4 separate regions of the Homo sapiens genome follow, and regions 2, 3 and 4 are each linked to region 1. The links are contacts of gene promoters, found by promoter capture Hi-C in blood cells and fetal thymus (Javierre and others, 2016). All regions are on one chromosome and are shown on one strand. The core of a region is centred on a gene start or on the middle of the fragment in contact, and the rest is flanking DNA. Distances in the headings are between cores, read along the strand shown. Region 1 holds the start of DTHD1 (death domain containing 1). Region 2 overlaps ARAP2 (ArfGAP with RhoGAP domain, ankyrin repeat and PH domain 2). Region 3 has its middle 26 kb from the start of MIR1255B1. Region 4 overlaps ARAP2 (ArfGAP with RhoGAP domain, ankyrin repeat and PH domain 2).

Region 1 (4,387 bases), core at 905-3,404:
AATAGTCTTATAGTCTATGTAATCACCTAAATTAAATATTTCAGTCATATTCTAATACTAAGCATAGTTCTTATACTAGTGGTCAATAAATATTTCTCAAATAAATGAATGCATTTTCAATACTTTCTATTCCTCTCCCTATAATCTGATGGTTTGGTAAGTTTAGTAAGTTCTATCCACTGTACTTCAAATCCCCTCTCACGCCATCCCCTTCTCTCATCTGCTCTGTTGCTGTTTTATACAGACCTTCGAGCCTCCTAACTCTTATATCTCTGTCATCTAATACATCTGCATCTCTACAGCACAGATTTCATCACATTGCAGTCTGATTCAAATATATTCAATTTCTGTCTTATCTGTAAACCAAAATTCTAATTTCTTCTCCTCACTATCTACAATTACTGAACTCTTCATTTGTCACCTCTGACTCGTTAACTGAACCTTCCTCCAAAGCCATACTTTTACATTTTTGATCCTACTGTGTAATCTCATGCCTCCGTGACTTTGATCATATTATTTCCTATGCTGGAATATTTTTTTTCTTTTACTCCATAGCCTGCTTATCCTTTAGTTTCTAATTCAAACATTTTCCAGGCCTCTAAGCAGAATTATTTTTTTAACTCCTCAAAGCTTTTATGATACTTTTTCTTTATACTTCTGCTCTAGCTCTCAACACAGACTAAGCTTTATTTCAATAATCTGTTCATGCATCTGTCTCTTGAAATCCTAAAAAGGCCTGACCTCCAGCACTTAGTTCCTGTCCCACAGTAAATGCTATAGGAAGTTTTCAAAATTAGCATTGAATTAAAGCCATGTGTACATTATTATTGAGAATGACACATCCATTTAAGGAGTAAGAAAAGAAAATAGAATTGAATGAGTGAGTCTTTAGTTTGAGAAGATTTAAATGATCCAATCCATGAAGTGATATGAACTCATACTGCGAAAAAGGTCCCCTTTTCAGTGAACAGAAGTTAACTGAAAAATAAGACACTTAGTGGTGAAGGAGCCCCTCTCCACTCTGCAGCCACCAGTACTCAATACTGCTCCTTTCCTTCAGGGTCTTTGACAGTCTTTAGGGCAGTGGCAGTCATTCTTCATTATTTATTCTCTGGGCTTGTTTTTCCCATCTTGTCTTCCAGGTGCCCTGAGTGTAGCTCTTAGAACTCCAGGGCTTAAGATGAGATAATGTGTTGCCTGTGGGAGGGAAGCACTCCGGCTTCCACTTGAAAAGCTTTCATTTTGTTCCAGTACCCGAGGGAACATGAGCCTCTCTGGAATGTACTTGCTGCCCTCTTCCTTTGGCTTAGGTGTGTGTTCTCTCTGAGCAGTGGGATTGGAGAGAGGGAGGCAGACTGTTCTGGTTTCCTCCAAATACCCGCAAGTGCTGCATTGCATAGCCCCATATATGATGCGCTGGCAGGCAGATGGGCAGCAGTGGGGAGAGCTTGTTGTATCTGAATTTTAATTACATATGGTAAAGAATCCTTGCTAGTTTAGAGAAAGCTACTCTTCAGGTTTACTTTCTTTCAGTGAAGGGGCATTTTATCCAATTAGAGGGAAATTATCAGAGGCCAAGTTCTTATCTCAGTCTCTGCAGATTTACCACATAAGAAGATGCTAATTATAACTTCCTAACCAATGCAATAGGCTCTGCTCCAGTAGAGGAATCTTTTTAAACTCTTGGTTATAAAAATACTATACATATACACATTAATTAGAGTGAATTGTCAAGACCCCATGTGTAAACATATCCAGCTTCAACATTTATTAATTCTTACAGCAAATTTTATACCTCTACCCACCCCTATGCTCCCTGATTATTTAGAAGCAAAATCAGACATCACATTATTTCATTCATAAATATTTTTAAGTTTACAGGAATCCTGCCAGCAATATTGTTCATACAGTTTACCTTTGATTAATAAACTTCTTACCCTACCTGGAATCTGTATTTTGTTGCCTCAAAACTTGAAAAGTATTTGGTACTTCCACAGTATATTGAATTTGTAAAACTTACACAGAGAGTTGGATCATGTGAGTCAGCTCTACCCCAGTGATTAATGTATTCTGTACACAGTAGCACCCATGGTACAGGAACGCCCCTTCTTCGGTCACCTAGTAACTTTTCACTAGTCAACACCAAACTGAATAACCACTATGTTGTGAGAAAGTGCTGGGCTAGCTGACTCGGATCATCTCCTAGAGTTTAGGAGAAATAACAATCACAAAGTTTGAATTTGCAAAACCTTTAGGCTTTGCTGGCAGGAGAGAAAATACCACTTTTGGATCATAAAATGGATATGGAATACATGGGCTCAGGTAAACTGGGCCAAATATTGAAGCAGATTTGGAGACAAAACCAGATGCTAAAGCAGGCACTCTTGGGTGATGACCTTTGTGAGGGGGCTGGTGGGGCCACTTGGATGGCCACTGTGGTCTTTCTGGGTCAGGAACTCAGCAGTGCCCTTCACCAGCTGCTGGAGCACACCTCAGGCACCCTGCGTTCCACCTGCCAGCAGCTGCATGTGCTGCTTGACAAAGAGAATCAATGTGTCTCGAGAAAAGGCAAGTATTCTTTTTTTTAGTTTATTCTTTCTCTAAGAAATATTGATTAGGGCAAGATCTGAGAGGGGCTATGAGTATACCAGATAGGCTAAGATAGAGTTTCTGTCCACAAGAGACTAACAATTTCAAAGGGGAAATAAGTTGAGACAAATGCACAATAATGCCAGGGACATTGGGGCCAGTCCCATTAGAAACACATGAATGAAGTGCTTTTGGACTTCAGAAGCAGTTTAAATCCCATCTGTAGGGTGGGGAATTGAGAAGTTTGCTAGAAAAATGTAGTATTTAAGCTGAAGCTTAAAGAGTGAATTGGATTTATGCAGCAGGAAAGAGAGAGTCGGTAATTTTAGTAGGATCCAAGACTTAGAGACAGGAAAATACAGGCCACTGAGGCAGAGCTAGTAGTTTGTTTTTTATATCAGAATATAGTATTCTATCTCTAGGGTCATTTGAGCTTAGCCTTATTGATTGCAAAATTACTGGGAAGACTGGAGTGGGTTGGGATAGGGAATTGGATCCCCATGCACTGGGGCTGGAGAGGGATTCTTGGGAATAGGTCCAGTTATGGATGTGGAAAAGTACAGTAAGGCAGGAAGAATGTGGAATCTGATGAATATAATCCTAGATAACAACAGTTACTCCAGATAAGCATATAGGTGGCATCATGAAATTCAACTCTAAATAATACAGTATCAAGATAAGTGGGCAGGTTCCATCTATGAGGAAATCCAGGGTAGATGATGTTAAGAAATTCAATCTAAAGGGCAAATAGTGGGCATCAGGGAAATCTGTCTAAAGGCAGCATGACTGAGAAGCCATCAGCTGCAGCCCACAATGAGACCTTTAGCCTCTGGAGGGAGTGGAACATGGTCTTTGGCAATATAACAAGCAAATATATATTCAGAAAAAAACAAGGACTTGGTTACCAGAATAGGAGTTAAAAATAAAGACAAGTTCTCAGGTATAAGACAAAAACAAAACAAAACAAAACACAAGTTGTCAGAACTGGATCCCAAAGAAAAGCCCTGACTGGTGAAGGGATGATTTGGTGATGGCTTTAAAAACACTAAGCTATGGGGCCTTAAATTACCTATTCTTTAGTTCAGAACTGAATTCTAAAGACTAGAGAGGTACTAAGCCTGCAAGAAGTCATCAGGTGACCTCAGTAGTGAGGAGAAGCAGGATGAACAAATAGGAGAGTGGGAAGAATGATGACGGAGTGAGAGATTATATAAGATTTGATCATGCTAAGAGTTTACTTCAGAGTGAAGAAGGTTGACCTGAGTTAGTAGGCTTTGAGTAGCCACTTCAGGTTCCAATCAGAGAATTGGTATGGTCAGAGCTATTCTCTGAAGGACTAATTTGAAAATTTCCAATGCTCACAAATTCATCAGGAGGAATAGTATAAACCTAATCCAATTCTTATAGCAGTAAACTAGGCTCCAAAACAAAGCATCTACATTGGCAGAAATAATGGAGGTATGGTGTTTCTGCCACCCAAGCCTCATCTGGAGTGTTCGCCTAATTTTCAGCCCAGCATTTTAAATGGATCATTGATAAACTATTGTACATCCAGTGGTAAAAGAAGAGTTCTCAAAATCATACCAAATGAAAAACAATTGAGGGAGATGTTGACTTCAGTTCTTATTGGGGGAGCAAGAGGTTATGACATTTGTCTTTAAATATTCGAAGTATCTTTATAAGCAAGAGGGATTAGATTTACTCTTTGCTACCATGTTAAAAATGGTTTGTTGTCAATCCTACAATTGTTAAAAGAGTGACAGTTATACAATTACTTCTCCTTCAGGAGTTTGGCTTA
Region 2 (4,387 bases), core at 1,067-3,566, 120 kb before region 1:
ATTTTACCCATGTTGGGTTTAAAACACACACACACAAACACACACACACACACACACACACACACACACACACACACACATATACAGTTCTAGCATTAAAAAAAAACAAGCTGGCAAACCTTTCTAAGTACTTATTAAGGATCTTCTATACTTTTAAAATAACTATCTCATTTAGGAAGCATTCTCAAAGAGTTACTACTATCAAAAAGGCTATAAGCCACTTCCATAATGTGGTGAGAACTTTATCAAACAGCCCCGAGAAAAATTCCTGCCACCCAAACCCACAGCAAACCTCCTCCCAGTCTCTGCAAACTGAACCCCTATCACAACCCCATTCAGGTTAAATAGGACTCACCTCGATGAGTTCATTGCTCCAAATGCTAGCATCCATTTTTAGACTTCTAACCTTGGAATCTTTTGGTCCTAAAGATCTATGCTGTCCTAGAGTCAAAACACAATTGCATTTCTATTTTAATTTGTATGTAAATTTATTTTACCTTGTTTTGAAAGAAAGTGCATATGTCTGTGTATGTTCGTTGCGTATCTTCTCAACTTAAAACACACCAATACCTGCTTTCCTCAATAACAAGATGACAAGAGCACTAACAGTAGTGGTGAGAATTAGACAAATCGCAGCTGGCTACAATAAAAACAGCAGCAATCATCATCAGCATCTGCACTGACAAAAAAAAAAAAAAAAAAAAAAAAAAACTACACGGCCTGGCGCGGTGGCTCACGCCTGTAATCCCAGCACTTTGGAAGGCCGAGGCGGGCGGATCACGAGGTCAGGAGATCGAGAACATCCTGGCTAACAGGGTGAAACCCCGTCTCTACTAAAAATACAAAAAATTAGCCGGGCGAGGTGGCAGGCACCTGTAGTCCCAGCTACTCGGGAGGCTGAGGCAGGAGAATGGCGTGAACCCGGGAGGCGGAGCTTGCAGTGAGCCCAGATCTTGCCACTGCACTCCAGCCTGGGCGACAGAGCGAGACTCCGTCTCAAAAAAAAAAAAAAAGAACTACACTTACTTAAATATATATATATATATATGTGCATGAGTGCATATGTACAGACACATGTATAAATATTTCCTCATTTGGTAATCAGCTAGAAATAGGCCACTGAAAACCTTTTGTAAAGCTTGCTAAAACCCCACGTATGTAAATGCAGATAATATTTCTTTACTGTTACAAAAACTTGACTATTGAAAAACTAGTTACATGTCTAATAAGTGTGTACTTAAAAATCTGACATGAATACTTTATTCAGCAAATATGTCTGGAAGAAAGTAAGAGCCCAGAATTTTATTACTGTCAATTCAATTGTGCTGTATAAATCATCATTCAGTCATCACTGAGCAACCAGGCTATGTCAGATTATTTCAAAGCTGAGAAGGAAAAAAAGTGTACAGTCCACTATCCTTGATCTTAAGGGCCCTTTGTCTAATGAACAACGAATGTTCATTCCTTTCCCTACAATAGGTAAGAAGTTCTTGTCTTTTTTTTTTTTTTTAAGTAGAAACTATTCAAAGCACAAAGCCCTAAATTCCCCTGGAAGAAATCTGCATAGGTTTGCATTTATAATGACTACCTACAGGCAATACAGTACCCAGCAGGTAAAAACTTAAAAGCCTGTAGGAAGAGATGAAAGGGACTGCTGCAGTAACCTAGGCATGACAGATTCTGAGTTGAGGCAGCAGGAAAATAAAATGGAGCAGACAGATTGAGAGAGATTGATAAGATAAAATGAATGAGACTTGGTGGGTTTGAAGGAAAGAGGAAGAGTCAAGAAGGTGTCTCAGATTTTAGGCTTTGAGTGTGCAGCGTAGACAGTATTGCTTTTGACCAAGATTGAGAATATATGAAAATGTGCAGTTTTATGAAATGGGCTGAGGGGAACAACGATGGCTCCATTTTTGACATGTTACATTTGAGGTGTATTTGGCAAATCTAAGTAGAGATTCTAGTAGGCATATAATCATAAGAGTTTGGTGTCCAACAGCGTGAGAATCATTTGCTTAAAAATGAGTGTGGAATTAAAGTGATAAATAATATCACTCAGGAGCAACACAGTAAAAGAGAAGTGAGAATGTAACCCAAGGGAACACATGTATTTCACAAGCATGGAAATACATGGGAAAAAAAATACTGGAAAAAAAAAGACTGGTAATAAGAACACAAAGAGAGACTGGTATCTTGGAAGCTGAGAGAGGATGGATGTCATAGAGAGACATGTTGTCGAGACACTCAAATAAAGAGACAATAATAAAGATAGTAAGTGACCACACCGAAACTGAGAGGTAAAATACGTTGGTAAATGTGGTGAAAAGATTTTTACCACAGTTGAGAGAAAAGGTAGCTCATCAGCAGTTAAAAGGTAGCTGATTACAGAATGCTGAAGAAAACTTAGGAAGTTAAAGGAATGAAAAAAAACCTATGCACACTACAACTTTTCATAATATCTTGTCTATGAAAGAAAAAGGGGACAGAGAATGACACATAGAAGGAAATGGATAACTTTTAGAAATCCTGATGGTGGTAATGAGACAAACTTGTGCAAGTTTATACAATGAAACAAAAGAAACCATGGCTAAATACTTACATAAGAGAGTGAATAAATGACGAACATGTATCCTAAGGAGGGAAGAAAGAAAGGAAGCAAAGGTAGAAAAAAACAGCTGTGAACAGCACAAAGGCCGTCTCTTCCAATGAAACTGGAGAGAAGAAAAGGATGGGATAAAATTCAAAGTAGAAGGTGATTCACTGGCATTTTTTGTTGTGATTGATATTATTAATTAGCTGGTGAGGAAATCTATCTTAGTTTGATGAGAAATGCAGTTGAATAGTGCTCTAGAAAAGCGTTCAGGATTTGAAGCAACTCCTGTGACTGCACTACTCACTGCGCTCTAGCTGAGGTAGGAACTCCTCTCCAGCATTCTCACTGAAGCCTGTATTCAACTCTAGTCCAACATTTGTCTCATTATTGTGGAGGAAATGTCATGTCTTATACATGTTTTTAATTCCCCGCACCAGCACAGTGCCTAGTACTTGAGTTGAATTCTCTCTCTCTGTCTCTCTCATCTGTGTTTGTGTGTGTATGTGTGTGTGTACATACAGTGGGGGAGAAGGTGGTGGGACACAGGCAGTCCAGGATAACTGAAGTTTAGACTGTGGTTAACTTTCTTCAAAACTTCCATGATCACACACCTAAGCTGGGGTCCACTTCCTTCCACTCACTTGGGCAACTGTCTGAGCTCTCAAATACACTGAGATGTCAGGTTGTCCAGTGTGAGGTCACAAGAAGAAAACCAGTCATAGTACTGGTTTATATTCATAAACATCAATAGTCTTGTGAAATGCTTCTTTATAAAAATTCTTATTTTAAGAGGTACCAGATCTGGCATATGAAGTTTAGTGCTCAAAACAACACTGAGGTGAAAAATATGTCTTACCAAAAATGACTGGGGAAAGGTGGACAAATCTTCAAGTTAAAGATGCAAGCTTCTTCAGGATCCATACTAAAACATACTCACCTAAAATCTAGAATTTTCAACACTGTCTTTTTAAAATCTATACATGGACCAGTAGGCATAAAATATGATTGCATGCTTAAAAATCCATTTTTATATCCAAGTCATACATAAGAGAAGTTTAGACTCATATTTCTGAATTTGATTTAAATGTAATAAGCTTTCTCTGGTTTTACTTCTCATAACCATTAGCTAGGATATATAATATGCAACAATGAAGAGCATTCAATGCCAATCTGCCACAAAGCTGTGATGAGCATAACTTGTCACTAATTACCTGCACACTTCTTACAGATGACAACACAGAGATTGATGGATGCCCAGTCAGGATCTGGGGCTTTACAATCTGCACAGCTCCTGTTGGATTCATTGAACCAAATCTTCTCAGCTACTTCATAATCAGAGAGAGTTTCTGCTATTGATTGCTGCACAGCTTCAATCCAGTCTTGTTTCTCCTTTTCAGTCTCGGCTGTAAAGCTGAAACAATTAACGTTTCTGTGTTATCGATCTCCCTTGTAAAGGCCAATTAAGCAGTATGTTCAGTTTGCATATTCATTTCACTCACAAATTAAACAACAGCTGAAAAATATGGCTGCTAGGCAGTTCTGGGTTGTCTTTTCTGTTAAAAATCATTTAACTTCGTCTTTTTTCCTTTTAATTTTCCACACTGTTTATGTCTTTGTTTATGCATCTTGAACCAAAATTAACATACACATTTTCTAAACAAAACATAAAATTTGCCTTGTTAGGTCACAAGCCTAAACAAGAGGCTATGTTTCCTAAGCAATGGTTATGTAATCATCAATAAGAGGTTTTTGGCAGAGTTTCAGGGCTACTGGAATATTTTGCCAAGCAAGTAT
Region 3 (4,387 bases), core at 1,127-3,626, 120 kb after region 1:
GTTTCGCCCCAGAAAATATTAGCTTGGTCACCAGAGAAAGAAAGGAAAAGAAATGCTAAACAGACAAAAGTAACAGTAGTGTATCTCTTCATTTCAGTCTCTCCTTACAGCTACCTTATATTATACTTTCCTGGATTATAGAATTCATCATGTTGCATCACAATTATTTTTATGTTTCTTGCCCTTCTGATATCTGGAATATTCTGGAGACAAGAAGACAATATTATTACTTTTAAAAATTGTTGTAATTATTTTCTTTTCATGTTTTAATCCAGTATTTGGCACTTACTAGCTCTTCGATAGATGGTTAATAATTCTACTAGTTAATTATATGTACAACTGTTGTATTCTCCTTATCTCTGTTTTGACATTATTTTATTTTCTTATCTAGCTTTCTTAAATTCTTTCTTCTTATATTTCCTTTTAATTTTTCTTCTCACTTCATCTAGTTCTCAAATCACTTTCCAAGGAAGTCAATGAGAAAAAAACATGCAAGTTTAATAATGTATTTTATTTACAACAGAGATTTCCCTGTTTGGAAGAGGGTGATCTCTTGGGTGTATTTTTTTTTTTAAAAAAGCAAAAATGTAACAAATTTATTTTTTTCATTCTTGAAGCTAGCTAAATATACCTAAAATGTCATGTCTCATTCTTCAAATACATGAGAGTACTTTGGTTTCTTGTGGGCCTTATCCTTAATTTCCAGTACCTTTGAGATGATTAATGACTATTCTTACTTAAAGTGGAACTAATTTGAATTATCTGGTGTTATAATGCATTTTTTGTTGTAAATTTTTTGTACATTTTTTATTTTATTGGCTGTTTATTCCATATCTTGTTACTATAGAAGCTAGTCTTCTATTTAAACTCAATGAGATTTACCATATTTCATTCAGTGACACCCTCAGTCTTGTCCCAAACTCTTACGGTTCTACATGTGTCGTGAGGCTGTTGTATGGCTGAGATGACATTAGGTAAAGCGCCAGATTAGCAGGCATATCCCAGATCATCACAAAGAAAAGTTAGTACAGCTTCCTATGTAGCTACTATGCTATGCCAAACTCTCTTTGTGACTAGACAGTTCTTCCCTCATTCTGGCATCATGCCATATTTTATTAGAATCTTTCTAGTTACTTCTCTCTAGAACATCCTCATAGAAATTCTTCCCCAAGTTATTTCTGCTCATCCTTCGTCTTGGTGGTGGTGGTGGAGTTACGTTCTCTTTCCTCAAAAAAGCTTTCCCTAAACTCTAAAAAACAATTGGCTTACCCTCTTGTACAAGTCACCTTGTAATTTATTTACGTTTTTATCACTGGCCACAAATGGACATTTTAAAATTAATTTTTGTGTTCTCTACTATATTGTAACTTCCATGAAAGCTAAGGCCACCTTGTCATGTCTATCGAATACTCAATCCAAATATAGCACATAGTAGGCTTTCAGTAAGTATTTATTGACTGAGTGACCAAAGGAGAACTCAAAACTAACCCAGTTTCCCACACTGGAAACAAAATCTAGGCAAGTTTAGATTCTTAAGACTGACAGAATTTAGGCTGTTTCCAACCATCAGTTTTGAGTGAAATGTAAACAAGATCAAACAGAGAAACCTTGTCACTTTTATTTATTGCTGTATTTCCCAAGACCTAGAACATTTCTTGGCACAAGCTATATGTTCAATAAATACTTTTTTGACTTAGTCAAGGAACCTTAAATACAAAGTTTTAAAATGTCTTAGCATTAGAGAAGCAGCTGCTGAGCCAGTGATGCCCTCTGGTGACAAAAGTCATCATCGCAGTACTTTTCTTAATTCAGGCAATTGGACTTTGAGCTTCTCTTTTATGTCTAGCATTTCATAGGAAAATATAAGTGGGGGCTGTCCCAAAGAGATACACTCAAGAAACCCTAGTGCAGTCTTAGCAGTATATCAATAATAACTTCTATATATATGTGACTTTACAGTTTTCTAAAGTCTTGGGGTATAAAGATTAGTAATAAGTAAACCTTATTCCTAACAGAAAAATACAACACAGAGAAATATGCACTAATGTAGACATCTACATACAATGTGGAAAAATCAACGGAAAGAAAGAAATCAAAGTATTTCCACATAATAGATGGCTGGGAAGGAAGACCAGGAAAAATTTTATAGAAGAGGTAATGTTTCTTAGGGTTTTAAGGGAAGAGGAGATGTTTTCCATTTAGACCAGAGACTGGGAGGACATTCTGAGCAGAGGGAAGAGGTTGAACAAGAGCAGTAAGAGTAATTCATTATTATTTTCTAATAAAATTATTTTACTTTGTATGTGGTGCAAGTATTTTATAATAAGAAAATATTCCTAATTCCTCCCTCCCATCCCTTGTATCATTGATGTCATTTATTTCACTAATGCGTAAGCTATAATCATCAAATACATTGTTGCTATTATTATTTTAAACAAATTGTTATCTGTTAGATCAATTGAGAATAAGAAAACTGAAAATTCTGTTATCTTCCCTTATTCCTTCTTTAATCCTCTTCCGTTTTTCATGCAGATCTGAGTTCCTGAGCTGTGTCACGTTTTTTCTCTCTAAATAACTTCTTGTAAGACTGATCTACTGTTAACAAATTCCCTCAGTTTTGTTTGTCTGAGAAAGACTTCATTTCTCCTTGACTTTCAAGGATAACTTTGCAGGGTAGTGGATTCTAGGTTGATGTATCTTTTCTTTCAGCACTTTAAATATTTCCCTCCACTCTCTTCTTGGTTGCATGATTTTTGAGATGTCAGATGTAATTTTTATCTTGCTCCTCTATAGGCAAGTTGTTTTTTTTTTCCTCTGACTCATTTCAAGATTTTTCTTGACCTTTTATTTTCAGGCTAGGTGCAAATTATTGGATATTTATCCTGCTTGGTTTTCTCTGTGCTTCCTGGATCTGTGGTTTGGTGTCTGACATTAATTTGAGGGAAATTATCAGTTGTTATTACTTCAAATGTTTCTTCTGTTCATGACTCTTCTTTCTAGCATTCTCATTACACATATGCTACATCTTTTGTCATTGCCTCATAGTTATTCGATATTCTGTTCCATTTATTCAGTAATTTTTCTCTTCACATTTTGGTTTTATAATTTTCTATTAACACATTCTCATGCTCAGAGATTCTTTCCTCAGCCACGTCCAGTCTCCTAATGAACCCATCAAATAATTCTTCCTTCTGTTAAAGTGTTCTTGATCTCTAGCATTTCCTTTTGATTCTTTCTTAGCATTTCCATCTCTTTGTTTACCTGACCTATCTTTTCTTACATGTTGTGTACTTTGTCCATTAGACACCTTAGCACATTAATCATTATCATTTTAAATTCCCAGTGTGATGATTCCAATATCGCAGCCATGTCTGAGAGTGGTTCTGATGACTTCCTTGTCTACACTGTGTTTTTTGCCTTTTAGTATGCCTTGTAATTATTATTTTTTTTTTAGCATTAGGGCATTTTTACTTTCCTTTTCTTCACCTTTTTATTTTAGGTTTGCAGGGTACATGTGCAAGCTTGTTACATGGGTAAGCTGTGTGTCACTGAGGTTTGGTATACAAATGATTTTATCACTCATGTTGTAAGCATAGCACTTGGTAGGTAGTTTTTTGTCCCTCATTCTTCTCCTACCCTCCACACTCAAGTAGTCCCTGATGTTTATTGTTCTCTGTGTACTCAATGTTTAGCTCTCACTTATAAGAGGGAACAGGTGGTATTTGGTTTTCTATTCTTGCAGTAATTTGCTTGGGATAATGGCCTCTAGCTGCATCCATGTTGCTGCAAAGGACATGATTTCATGCTTTTTTATGAGTATGCCTTATAATTTCTTGTGATGTAGTGGGTAAAAGGAACTCTAGTAAATAGGCCTTTAGTGATGTGCCGGTAAGGTGTTGGGGGTTAGCTAGTATTCTAGAGTCCTGTGATTATGTCTCAGTCTTTTAGTGAGCTTGTGTCCCTAGACTGTGAACTTCACAGGTGTCTCTCAGTTTTATCGACCAGTATGGGATGGCTACAGGGTGATGGAGTCAAGTGTTTTTCATCCCCCATATGAAAAACTAGAGAGGGTTAGGGTTGGGGTTTTCCCTTTCCCAAGTATGTTAGGCTCCTATAAAACCCCTTCAGATCAGGATCTGATAAAATAGTTTCTCTAGGGGGCAGGCTTTGTAAAAAACAGAATCCTTTCCCCGTTGGAAGCTGGAGACTTCTCTCTAATGTTTACTGGGCGAATCTACTTCATCTCCTGTAGGTAAAGCCAGAAAAGTGTGGGGGTATCTGATATGGTTTGGCTGTGCCCTCACCCAAATCTCATCTCGAATTCCCACGTGTTGTGGGCGAGACCCAGTGGGAGGTAATTGAATCATAGGGGCAGGTGTTTCCCATG
Region 4 (4,387 bases), core at 545-3,044, 70 kb before region 1:
GTAAACAATTCTAATTAAATATAATCCTTCCCTAAAGATTTCTCAGTACTGTAAAATGCTTAAGGGACAAAAGTTTCTTTGTAAACATTTGTTGATAAATCCAAAGAAAAGTATAATATTCACGGGACTCTGACCTTCTGTGTAACATACAAAAATCAAAATAAGATATCAATAATAGTGAAGACCTAAACCTAACAAAGATGTACTTTTCCCTAACAACAATAAGCCTTGTATTCTCAAACAGAACACTGTTATGATATGAGCAAAAGCCAAACAGTGTGGGCTGAGTAATACTAACTCAGTCTGTCTTGTTTTTCTTTGTTACATACTGGGACACAGATTAGCACATTTTGATGCGAACTTAGAAGGTAACATTAAGAAATTAGATGTGAGGTCATAACTTTCTATTTTAATTTGCGACTCTGGACCTTAATGCAGCATTGCATTGCACATCTCTCTCCTTATGTCTAAAGAATAGCACTGGCAAAAGTGTGCTGAAAGTCCCTAAAAATGGCATCTCTGTGTATGTGTGTGTGTGGCGGTGGAGTGGGGGAACAGCAACCCTGGAGGTTTAGAAATGAATAAACTTGAAATTTTAAAAATATGCCACTTATGAAATAAATGCATACGTACATACCCTTGAGGAGAGAGTTTATCCAGCCATCCTGATTTAACCTTCTTTGCAGATGCTCCATAAAAGCAGGCATAGGGAGATATTGCCTGTGAAGAAACGGCTGATGAATCAGCATTTCCACTTGTTGAGCTTAACGGATAACTGTGCCTATTAACGGAGTCCAAAATCAAGGCTTTTTGAGTCCTAGATTTAGATGCCTTTGAATTTTTTCTTCTTAAACTCTGAAAGCATTCTTCTACTGTTGAGTATTCTGATTCAGAAGCAGTGTCTATCAAAAAATTGTTTTTGTCCTCTCGAGGTATCCAAATATCTTCCACCTTGTCCTCGCTTATTTTCTCCTTTCTGTTATCGTATATGCTAAACGGAAAAATGATGTAAACATTTCAAAGTGCTATATGTGATTTAAGACATCAGTGACATTTTGAAAATTTATAAATAACTAATAACAGAAACATAAGGCCAGGAAAATCCTAGAGTTTCCATTAACCCTATTGAAAATTTTTTAAACTCTTCCAGAAAAGCTAAGTAAAATTATTTCATTAACCTATGACATCTGAATACTACTACAAGTTTTTTCTTAGGTATAATTTAATCTTATCCCTTTTATTTTGGAAGGTTAGGGGCAGGTGCTAAGAATGCAGACTGGGTATATTCTTCACATCACAATTTAAACATCTTTAATAGCACAATTAAGTGGCCAGCCCAATCCCTCTGGGCAACATGACGGACCATTAACTCATCTATATGGAGATCTTATTTCCAATTTGCTTACCCCTCTCTACTATCCTCTAATCAACTCCAAGGACCCCATGTTTCACCACAATGCAATAAAACAGAGAGTATGCCTGACTGCTGAGAGCATCAGTATTATTTTGCAATGCTGATGAGGAAAAATATTGCAGCACACTGCTAGCTAGAAAGCAAGAAAGGGTCAGTGTACATTCAGGAAGTAAAAGCTATGTAATGCACAATATTTATTGGAATGCATTCATAATAGCTAAGCATATTTCTACAGATTCAAGGGATGACATAATAGATCAACTCATTCATTAATGCCAAAGGACATTTTTTGCTAATCAATGAAACAGATATGCCTGGGCTCAAATTACATCTTTCTGGATATAGCATTCTAAAAACCATTACTGCCTCAAAGAATAATTTAGCCTGGCCCTTTCATATTTTGCATTATATTAGATTATGTCAAATGTTTACTAAAGATGTTTAATTGTTTAGCTTTAACTGAGGGAAACCTATAACAATGTTAGCCTTAGAAAATGAAAGACAAAAATAAAATGAATGTCCCACTAAAAAGTATAATTAAACTGTTGGCAATACAAAAGAGGAATGCTTTGGGGGATGAATATTCCGTTTTCCATGATGTGATTATATTATGCTTATATCAAAATATGTTATGTACCCCAGAAATATATACATCTACTATGTAATCTCAAAAATTAAAAATTAAGAAAAAGAAAATGAAGTATCAGGTAATGTGCCAGTATGCCAAGTTCCAATAAAGCTGAGAGAAAACCAAAATTGAAGTTGGTGCATACAAATTCTAACTCTGTATGTGATCCAAATAACTGGATAATTGTCATGCTTCTTGCCAGTGCTGAAACTCCAATAAAAAGAATATATTATACTTGTAAAAGTCTGCAACTTGCATAGTGATGTTCTGCACTGCCCTTTTCTCCTTTTTATTAACATAACCTCTCATCTTTAATGTGCAATCATAGTCACCTGTATTTGCTACTGTGGGGAAGGGGTGTGGTTTCCATTAGAAAAAGACAAAAATAATCTGCCACAGAATGCAACTATTTACTTGATCTACAGAGCATAATTCAATTAATAAAATGGGTGCTGCTATGCTTACATTTAGAGAGGAAAAAATTGAACTTATCACCATAAACTATTTTCTCTGACACACAATATTATACTAAGAATGAGAAGTCAACATTGTATAACAGTTTATTCTAAATAGTTAATCATCATCAATCATGATCTCATACCTTGATTTGATGATAAAAGAGTTTGTTGCAGTAGCTGCTTCCCCTTTGAGTGCTTCTCCCTGGGTCAAAAATTCATTCTTTATAGATCGCTTCTATTAAAAAAGCAAACAAACAAAAAACACATACTGTTTTGCTTTTTGGTTTGGGGATTTGTTTGTATGTGTAGCAATATTCTACAAAAATCCATAATATCTGAGTTTAGTTTTATTAAATAAGTCTAATTACTTAGATCAATTTTCAGAAAAAAAAGTTAGTCTACATTAAACAGACTTTTGATTTTTTTTTCACTATTTTATTCAAATCGTTAACTCATCAATTCAAGTAAGAATAAAAGAAAATGGTAACCAAAAATAAAATTTATGTACTTTTACTCCTTGATTCATTTTTGTCTTCCAACTTCTCTTTTATCAAGACCAAGAAATAAAGTAGCAAAAGAGCACAAGTAATAGAAAAGAATGAGTGATAAACTAAATAATTAAAATATATACATAATTGGAAATCTATGCACTTCAGAAGTCTGCACTTGGCTACAAGGCAAAGCAAAAATCTAGAGAGTGCTTAAGTTTTATACAGTTTGTCTTTTGTTTAATTAACCCAATCTTGTGGCAAATTTTTAAAACTCACTATCCTGGATTCCTGAAGTCATAATAAACATGTGTTCCTATAATGTATATTGAAAGAGACAGATTTTACCATAATTTTACTGAACAAAAATTTTGCTGACTGGAAATTTCAATCTTCAATATAATGCCATTCTTCAAATAGCTTGGAGAAAAATGAAGAGGTACAAATAGGCAGAAAAGCAAATAATTGATTATGGAAAACAATTAAAATGTATGGGACTAACCTTGGAATTTTCTAGTCTCTGGAAGAGAAAGGTCTCTCCATAAGGAAAGATGGAAGATGAATTCTCCTCATTTGAATCTTTTAGGGGAATTACAGGATGAGAACAGAAAGATGTGAATAATGTGAAATACTGTTTTTAAAAAAAGATTAAAAGCATGAGTTTTTTATGGCATTATCACAACGTAAGCTTTATTCTGTAAGAGTCCAAATTATGCTAATTCTTATCCCCAAATCAATTCTCCCCATCGTCTTCTTGATATAACACACATGGTATCCACCACTTGCTTCACAAACATAACTCACTGCTCCTTAAATTGCAACCTGTCACACATGTCCTTCCCAACCTCTAGGATCCACATTAACATAACCAAATACATTGCCCACATACAAAATAAATTGTCATGGTGCCATTTATAATGCTAATTCCTAAATAAGGAAATATTCTAAATGGCAGAAAATTAAGCTTAATTCTATAACTTACAATAAATAATTATAAAAAGGTCACTAACATAATAGCTAGATATCACTTAAAATCCCAGAAGGCATTTAATATAATTCCTCTAATGCCATAGCTACTAATGCATCTGTAAATAAATTATTTCAAGAGAAGTTCCACCATCCTTGAATTATACTAATCTACAAAAAAAGAATTCTCAATATTTGCATTTCTACTCTGGCAAAAATTTTTCTTAAAAATTCAGTACCCAAGTGTTTGACATCTTATTGTCAAAAAGAATGTTCCCAAACTTGTATAATCAGAATTTTCAAAATGAAAGAAAAGCCTCTGTCACTGTTCAATTTGCCAGAGCAACAATGACAGCCCTTTCCAGTTACCATGGCAAAATCACTTTCCGTACATATATCTTTGTTCTGTAGCTCAAACTGCCAGAAACCATTT

Evidence for each region. The method cuts DNA at HindIII sites, captures the fragments that hold promoters and counts their contacts. A CHiCAGO score of 5 or more calls a contact.
Region 2: a fragment that was not itself captured here is called in contact with the fragment with the promoter of DTHD1 in region 1 in 5 of 17 cell types (activated CD4 T cells, non-activated CD4 T cells, naive CD8 T cells and 2 more); the score reaches 8.0 in activated CD4 T cells.
Region 3: a fragment that was not itself captured here is called in contact with the fragment with the promoter of DTHD1 in region 1 in 9 of 17 cell types (activated CD4 T cells, naive CD8 T cells, M2 macrophages and 6 more); the score reaches 11.3 in activated CD4 T cells.
Region 4: a contact is called between a fragment that was not itself captured here and the fragment with the promoter of DTHD1 in region 1, in 7 of 17 cell types (total CD8 T cells, activated CD4 T cells, naive CD8 T cells and 4 more). The highest score is 11.3, in total CD8 T cells.

The regions. Positions count from the first base shown.
Region 1 is chr4:36,279,462-36,283,848 of GRCh38, forward strand. DTHD1 (death domain containing 1) reads left to right here and starts at 2,155. Exons shown (of 10, transcript NM_001170700.3): 1 at 2,155-2,568. The coding sequence starts at 2,298. The HindIII fragment of the contact is 1,630 bases long and covers 1,233-2,862 here.
Region 2 is chr4:36,161,110-36,165,496 of GRCh38, forward strand. ARAP2 (ArfGAP with RhoGAP domain, ankyrin repeat and PH domain 2) reads right to left here. Exons shown (of 33, transcript NM_015230.4): 11 at 3,805-4,004; 12 at 356-441. Among named protein-coding and RNA genes, the nearest start is that of ARAP2, 81 kb to the right of the region's middle. The HindIII fragment of the contact is 2,360 bases long and covers 1,137-3,496 here.
Region 3 is chr4:36,398,186-36,402,572 of GRCh38, forward strand. No RefSeq gene overlaps it. Among named protein-coding and RNA genes, the nearest start is that of MIR1255B1, 26 kb to the right of the region's middle. The HindIII fragment of the contact is 2,285 bases long and covers 1,235-3,519 here.
Region 4 is chr4:36,209,753-36,214,139 of GRCh38, forward strand. It overlaps ARAP2 (ArfGAP with RhoGAP domain, ankyrin repeat and PH domain 2), which reads right to left. Exons shown (of 33, transcript NM_015230.4): 4 at 3,491-3,567; 5 at 2,644-2,735; 6 at 638-991. Among named protein-coding and RNA genes, the nearest start is that of ARAP2, 33 kb to the right of the region's middle. The HindIII fragment of the contact is 3,759 bases long and covers 1-3,674 here.